Linked DNA regions of Homo sapiens: region 2 is linked to region 1. The links are contacts of gene promoters, found by promoter capture Hi-C in blood cells and fetal thymus (Javierre and others, 2016). All regions are on one chromosome and are shown on one strand. The core of a region is centred on a gene start or on the middle of the fragment in contact, and the rest is flanking DNA. Distances in the headings are between cores, read along the strand shown.

Evidence for each region. Contacts are between HindIII fragments. The CHiCAGO score rates a contact against its expected background, and 5 or more counts as called.
Region 2: a contact is called between a fragment that was not itself captured here and the fragment with the promoter of EIF4EBP1 in region 1, in 2 of 17 cell types (erythroblasts and total B cells). The highest score is 5.8, in erythroblasts.

The regions. Positions count from the first base shown.
Region 1 is chr8:38,028,547-38,032,389 of GRCh38, forward strand. It overlaps EIF4EBP1 (eukaryotic translation initiation factor 4E binding protein 1), which reads left to right and starts at 1,988. Exons shown (of 3, transcript NM_004095.4): 1 at 1,988-2,172. The coding sequence starts at 2,028. RefSeq lists a silencer at 1,769-2,208 and enhancers at 1,785-2,079, 2,709-2,808. The HindIII fragment of the contact is 5,036 bases long and covers 1,155-3,843 here.
Region 2 is chr8:38,406,330-38,410,000 of GRCh38, forward strand. LETM2 (leucine zipper and EF-hand containing transmembrane protein 2) reads left to right here. Exons shown (of 11, transcript NM_001286819.2): 9 at 617-709; 10 at 1,033-1,134; 11 at 1,883-3,198. The coding sequence ends at 1,945. All of the region lies in intron 1 of LOC102723716 (a long non-coding RNA gene), which reads right to left. Among named protein-coding and RNA genes, the nearest start is that of LETM2, 22 kb to the left of the region's middle. RefSeq lists a silencer at 3,422-3,471. The HindIII fragment of the contact is 1,607 bases long and covers 865-2,471 here.

The sequences.
Region 1 (3,843 bases), core at 738-3,237:
TGTTTGTTTTGTTTTTTTGTATTTTTAGTAGAGACAGGGTTTCACCATCTTGGCCAGGCTGGTCTTGAACTCCTGACCTCATGATCCACCCGCCTAGGCCTCCCAAAGTGGTGGGATTACAGGCGTGAGCCACTGCACCCAGCCGAAATTTATTTTTTTTTCTTTTGAGACAGAGTCTTGCTCTGACGCCAGGCTGGAGTGCAGTGGCATGATTTCAGCTCACTGCAACCTCTGCCTCCCAGGTTCAAGCAATTCTCCTGCCTCAGCCTCCCGAGTAGCTGGGACTACAGGCATGCGCCACCATGCCCAGCTAATTTTTTTTATATTTTTAGTAGAGACAGGGTTTCACCATGTTGTCCAGGATGGTCTCGATCTCTTGACCTCATGATCCGCCTGCCTCGGCCTCCCAACGTGTTGGGATTACAGGCGTGAGCCACTGCGCCTGGCCCAAAATTAATTTTTATAATGTATTTTTCTTAACCCAGTATACTCAAAATATTATCAGTTCAACATACAATCAATATAGAAACAAATTATTCAGGTATTTTACATGATTTTCTTCACACTAAGTCTTTGAAATATGGTGTGTATGTTAAACTTGTGACAGTTTGGACTGGTCACATTTGGAGTGCTCAATGTGCACCTGTAGCTGGTGGCTACTGTCTTAGCCACTGTAGGCCTAAAGTTTCCCTCAAAAGTGAGACCAAACTCAACAGGTCTCCCTATCTCAGGCCTTGCCCTCCTTGGCCCATTCTGAAACTCCACTGGCTACTAGTTATCCTTCCAAAAAACAACTCAAATCATGTCATCCCCCTGCTTAAAAGATCTCTGATATCTCCTGCCCTTCTAAGACAAAGTCCAAGCACTTTGGCATAATTTGAAAAACTCAACGACCTGACCCCAATTTCCTTTTTAAAAAATTATTATATATTTTTTTAGAGATAGGGTCTCTGTCACAAAGGGTGGAGTGCAGTGGTGTGATCACAGCTCACTGGAGCCTCAAACCCCTGGGCTCAAGCATCCTCCAGCCTCAGCTTCCTGAGTAGCTGGGATTACAGGTGCACCACCCAATTTCCCTTTTAAACTGCCCTCCCCTCTTCACCCTCTTCCCCACAATATGTGCCCATAATGCTAAGAACTTCTCAAACCCAACAAGCTTTTCCATCCTCGGTCCTTCTTGCATTTTTCTCTCTCCCCTTGAACATCCATCCATCCATCCATCCATCCATCCATCCATCCATCCATCCAAGGAGTACCTACTAAACCTCAGGTGGACGTTGGACTCAATTCAGGGGCTATCGGGAAACCTCTTCGACACTCTTACTCCTCTCCAACGCCCTTCCCCACCACCCACCTCTGCGCCCCCAGCTCTAAATTTAGCTCCCAGGACGCCGCTGGTTGGTTCACTCCTCCTCCCACACCCTCTCTAAAGGCCGGGAACGGAATTGTTAGCCCCTCCACCCCCACCCCCATCAAGGTCAAGAAATTGAAGCGGGGCGGGGGGCGGTGAGCATAACTACTCAATCCCCATTTTCTCATCTGAGGAACTAAGGCACGAAACAGGGAGTGCCGAAGGGTACACCAGGCCTGATGTCCTAATGCAGAAACCGGGCCTTCCTGCAGTGGGCCGGGTCAGCTCGGATCTCCGCGCGGTCCTGAGTCGCCGCCCCCAACCCAGCCAAGGATTAATTTAGGCGAGCTATCCCGCCCGCCATCCCCATATCCGTCCCTGCCAGCGTGGCGGGGAGGGACCCCGGACGGAGGGGCAGTCGCTGCGGGGCGGCGCCAGCGCCCGTGCGGAAGAGCCCGTGAGCAGACGGGAGTGGGTCGGGGGGCGGCGGGGGATCCCACGTGGAAGCAGCGTCCTGGAGCTGGGTGGGGCTGCGGCGCGGACTACAAATCCCAGGGGCGTGGGGCGGGAGAGGCGGAAGGGGCGTCCTGGGGCGGGGCGGCACGGGGCGAGGCGGAGCGAGGCTGGAGGCGCGGGAGGGCAGCGAGAGGTTCGCGGGTGCAGCGCACAGGAGACCATGTCCGGGGGCAGCAGCTGCAGCCAGACCCCAAGCCGGGCCATCCCCGCCACTCGCCGGGTGGTGCTCGGCGACGGCGTGCAGCTCCCGCCCGGGGACTACAGCACGACCCCCGGCGGCACGCTCTTCAGCACCACCCCGGGAGGTAGGCGCGGGCTTGGCGACGCCGCTTGCCGGCTCCTGGGCGGGCGGGAGGATCGGGAATCGCGGATTGGACCGGGTGTCCAGGCTCAAGGGCGCCGTGATTGGAAAGAACGGAAAAGGGGCATCGGAGAGACAGCGAGGGTCATGGAAGTGGCCGCCCGCTTCCCCTCTGAGTGCGTCTTCCAGACCCGAGTTACAAACTGCCCCGTTTGTTTCCTCTTTCTGTTAGGTGTCAGACAGCTGACACCTAACAAACACGCACGCCTCCAGGACAGCCACATGCCGAGCTGTGCTGCCCCTTGTGGGTGTTGGGGGCGCTCCCGAAGCGGGAGAGGGCGGAGTTAGGGTGGCCCACGATCCAGGAGAGGCCTGGCCTGGTGTTTTTATGGGATGGGTATTATCTGTTGGGATAAACGATTCCTGCAGGGCCCTTTTTCCTTCCCGAAGCACGCCGAGTTTTGTGTTGGACTCGCGCGCTCTGACTGAGGTTCGGATCTGGGGGTGCTTGCCTGCTCCAGCAGCGCCTCCCGGGCACCTGTGGCACGTTCCCCATTTACGCGAGTGGGATCTCCGCGGGGGGGACCCTGGCGCCACGGCCAGGGCTGTGCAGAAAAACACGTTCTTCTGTCCGGGGAGAGGAGGAGGCACCGTGTGACCTCCCTGGGAGAGGATGAGGAAGAGGAAGCTGAGCTGGCACGGGTGGGGGGGCCAGCCTCGGGCTGCCCTCAGGAACCTGGCATTCCCTCCCAGCCCCGGAGCCCCAGCGCACAGACGCTGATGAAACCTACGCGCCTGTTTGCATGATGAAATAAATCCTCGTGGCTCTCTCCTCCCCTCTCATTGTCGCACTGCCCCCACCCCTTTTTGCTCCTCTCCCTTCATTCTCCTCCACGCTGCTTTCCATACTACTAGAAAACGCGACAGATCCTGGCGCTTGGCTAGGTGGCGGGCGGGGGCCACATGCTTATTTTCTCAGGCAGCTGTCCCACCAGCAGCGAGCGCGGCCAGATCCGAGGTCCTCTGCTGTTTGATCCAAAACATACACTGTTAGAACGGTTAGGGATCTTGTCCAGCCCTGCCGTCTTATTCTACAGAGCCCGGCATTGAGGCCCCAGAGCTTGAACACGTGTCTGTTGCCCATTGTCACACCGTTTTCCCAGATTGGACAAGAAATAGCAACCAGGCAGAGAAGGGAGAAATGCTTCCTTTTCTATTAGAAATGAGCCAAGGAAAAGCTCGCAGGGGCTCTTGTTGCCATTCCCGACTCATCCTCTTTCCCTTGCTGGGTCTTTTGTAGTCCATGCTGTTCTCCTTTGTCTCTGTCACAATGGTCTACCAGGACAATTCCTGACAATTTTGGAGTTCTTTCAAATGAGGGTGTAAGTGTCTGCTGGATTTGTTCAGGGTGGGCCCTGAGGCCGGCCTGAAGGCGCAGGTAGCCCTTTTTTGCACTCTTTATTGCTGGATTGTTGGGTCAAATTGGAAGCCAGGATACTGTTTATAGGCACTTCTGGCCCGGGTACCAAGGTTCACACCTGTAATGCCAGCATTTTGGGGAGCCAAGGCAGGAGAATTGCTTGAGGCCAGGAGTTCAAGACCAGCCTGGGCAACATAGTGAGACTCCATCTCTACAAAGAAACAAACAAAACAACAACAAAATGTTGTCCTAGCT
Region 2 (3,671 bases), core at 418-2,917, 380 kb after region 1:
GTGGCTCATGCCTGTAATCCAGCACTTTGGGAGGCTGAGGTGGGTGGATCACCCGAGGTCAGGAGTTCAAGACCAGCTTGGCCAACATGGTGAAACACCGTCTCTACTAAAAATACAAAAATTAGTAGCCGGGCATGGTAGTAGACGCCTGTAATCCCAGCTACTCAGGAGGCTGAGGCAGGGAGAATTGCTTGAACCCATGAGGTGGAGGTTGCAGTGAGCCGAGATCGAGCCACTGCACTCCAGCCTTGGTGACAGAGTGAGACTCCATCTCCAAAAAAAAGAAAAAAAGAAAAACAAATAATTGAGAAATGGCTTTTGAGGCCAACAGCAGGACCAGTGCCATCAGTGGATTGCTAATGATTATTTTAAATGCTAGAATCTATCAGAGTGCAACTTTTGTATATAAAGTACTCAAAACTCAAAGAGAAATAATACTAAGTTGCTACATCAGGGGCATATTTCATAGGTTACTCATAAAGGGTGTAGCTAGAGGAGGAAGTTAGGGATTTAGTGGAAAGCAAATAGTGCTAAAAAAGGCATTGACTACTGTAAAAGTTTCTGGGTTTTAGGAAGAGCAGAAAGCTTATGATACATAAAATGTTTATCTCCCCAGGCTCCAAAGACTGATATTCTTGTGGAATTACCTACTTTCACTGAATCTAAAGAGAACATGGTGGATCTTGCACCTCAACTGAAGGGAACTAAGGTTAGACAGTTACTTTCCATTTGGTTAATTAGATTAAAAAATGAAAATAGCAATGGGTCATTTTCTCCTGTTTTAATCCCCTTAATGAAATTGAAATTCAATACAATAATGTTCCTTAATAAGGAATATTTATTGTACTGTTTGATCTAAGAGGAAGCTTAATATTTGGCTACACGTAATTAGGTTCCAGATTTTGCCTTTTGAATCCTGTGCCAGGATATGAGGTAGTTGTGACAAGTTCCTGGTAGTCAAGGTAGTGGACTGTAGATTAATACACATTTTCTTTTAAATCAGTAACCCAACTCTCAGTTCTGATGTTTAAGGATGAAGACTTTATACAGCCGCCACCAGTTACATCATCACCCATAACACCATCAACACCTATTTCATTACCTAAAGGACCCATCACTTCTTCTGAAGAACCTGTAAGTATCTTTAATAAATGAAAAAGAAAGAGAAGACCCTTTCCCTCTAGTTATCTTTAAGGGCAGTGAGAATCTAGAATTAGTCCTGTTGCAAAACACTGCACAATTCTTCCTGTTGTCCAAACAGGAAATTGTAGGCCAAACTTTAGTCATCTTGTAACCACGTTTTTTACTTCAACTATCCAAAAAAAAAAATTGTGGGTCAGACTAAAACATGCAAAGTGTAGAAGTCAGTTACAATATAGGCAGACCCTTTTTTTCTTATGTGCCAGGTGGAAATAGTTTCCATGTGTTATTTTACACATGCTTCCGACGTGAGGAAATACTAGCTGGAAAGCAACTTTAATTTCCAGAGAAATGCATGTAAATAAGAAACTACTTATCTATCATCCAGTTTTCCCAATTGGGTGAAGGGATTTGGGGCAAGAGCACAGGGCATGAAGAGAGTAAACAGTGGGGAGGTTGTGGGAGAGTTGAAGTGGGAAGTGGCTCCTGTGGACCAAAGACATGGCTGGCAGGACAGAGAATCTATGAAGACACAGATGGGGTAAGCCCAGAAAAGCATCCCAAGGCACACACATACCTTGTTTTTTGTAAATCTCCTTTATCTTTTATTACCAAGGTAAATTATAATCTCAGATTTGACTTTGTGGTCACTATTTTGATTAAGAAAACAAAAATAGCATTCACTCCTTAAGAACTTACACGTCTGTGACTAATGCCTACAGTCCTTGTTTTTTACGCCTAGACACTCCAGGCCAAATCACAAATGACGGCCCAGAACAGCAAGGCTAGTTCAAAAGGAGCATAAAGGACTACTTGAGGATGGAGCTCACTCTCTTCAGCTTCCGGCCCTCAACAGTGGCATCTGTAAAGGACCTCCCAGATAAGACTGTCTGGCTTCAGAGAGCGGATCAGCTGTTTAGCCCGTGGGGCAGTCCTTTGAGGCCTGGTAACCATTCCAGGTGATGTGGGTAGTGAGACCAAGTTCAGACCACTTAGAAAAATATAATTGCAAAGTCCCATTTCCTCTGTACCATTGTCACCCCACTCAACTTTGTATAAAGCCCACCCCCCATCATGTTGTTTTTTTAGTTTCATGTGTACGTCCCTTCAGAGAGGAAATTTTTTGCACAATGGAATCAGCTTGGCACCTTAGATACCTGTCTCCTATGGCTTGGAATTCTGAGTAAGAACTTGGAAGTTCCAAAAACCATTTTAGGAGCACCTGATTAACTTTCTGAATGATCCACCAGTAGGATCAGCACCCTGGAAACAAAGTACCTTATGAGATGGGATGGATATACTCCCCAGTAAGATCTTTCTGGATATAATGAAGCTTCCTGGAGAAACAGACTGGCAATCAGAAAGATTTGGCTGCTTCCGACACCTCCATCTTGGGCCTGCAGAGGCTGCAGCAATCTGTGAGGCAGCCGCAATCTGCGAGGCAGCCACTCTTCTAGCACATATGGCTTTCATTAGCCACCATTTTGCTAGGAAGCATAATTAAGGGTTTAAGCCTTAACCATGTTTGTGTTGGGTGTGTGTGTTTCTGGCCAGTTTGTCTTTCACAAATAAGACTATTAGTCATAGGGATTGTGAAAGTCTGATATAATCCCTGTGCTACCCAGCAACAAGTATTACATTAGGATATTTATGCTTGGTGTTTTCAGTATTAATAATATGAAATAATAGATAGACTGCCATGCAGCTGACCAAGGGCTTTCTTCCCCTGGGGAGTGGTTAGAAGGCCAAAGGTATTTCAGCCTGTAGGTGATAAAATTAGATTTCTTTACTTGCTGTGGTTAGACAGCAGTCAGTTAAAACAAGTAAAACTCCACTGTCCTGTCTGGGATCACCTAAATGAGGAATGTCACCAGCACTTCACAGCAAGAATATGCATTCTACAATGCTTTCTAAATTTGTGCTCCATCAGAGAAGCCCCACCATGTCCCACTAATGAAGCCCAGTTCTTTGGGAATGATGAATCCCTACTGTGCACATACAGCAATCATGGATCCTGCCTATCGAGGTGATTCACAATACACTTTCCCATTTCAAAAATGACGGGTATTTTAATTAGTCCACATTTCAGGTGTTAAATGTGGGAAAGGGATTAGCTAAACTTGCTCAATTCTGTTTTAGCTGAATGAGTCATAGGTACTGCTGGGCTGTCCTACAGTTCCTTCTGGCTTTCCCTCCGAGCAGGGTGGGAATGAGCAGTGACCTGGTCAAGGGACCCGGGCCACTTGATAGACCTCTCCTCCCACTCTTCTGCTAGCAGCTCAGAGAAGTCAAGGATGTTTTGTTGTTCTCATCATTTAGGGTGCTTGGCTGTTGGGTTCAGTGATCCTTACATCTAGCCCCAGCTAGTGGTGTTCTGGTAAATCGTTAACCACCAACTCTTTGAGCCTCCCGGGGTAATGAAAGTTACACCTCTAGTTAGCATGTTTATGAAATAGATCCCTTCTGCACGCGAAGACCTGCATGTAGGGCAGTATGGTGGAAATGGTCCTGAATACTGTTGACGGTCCACC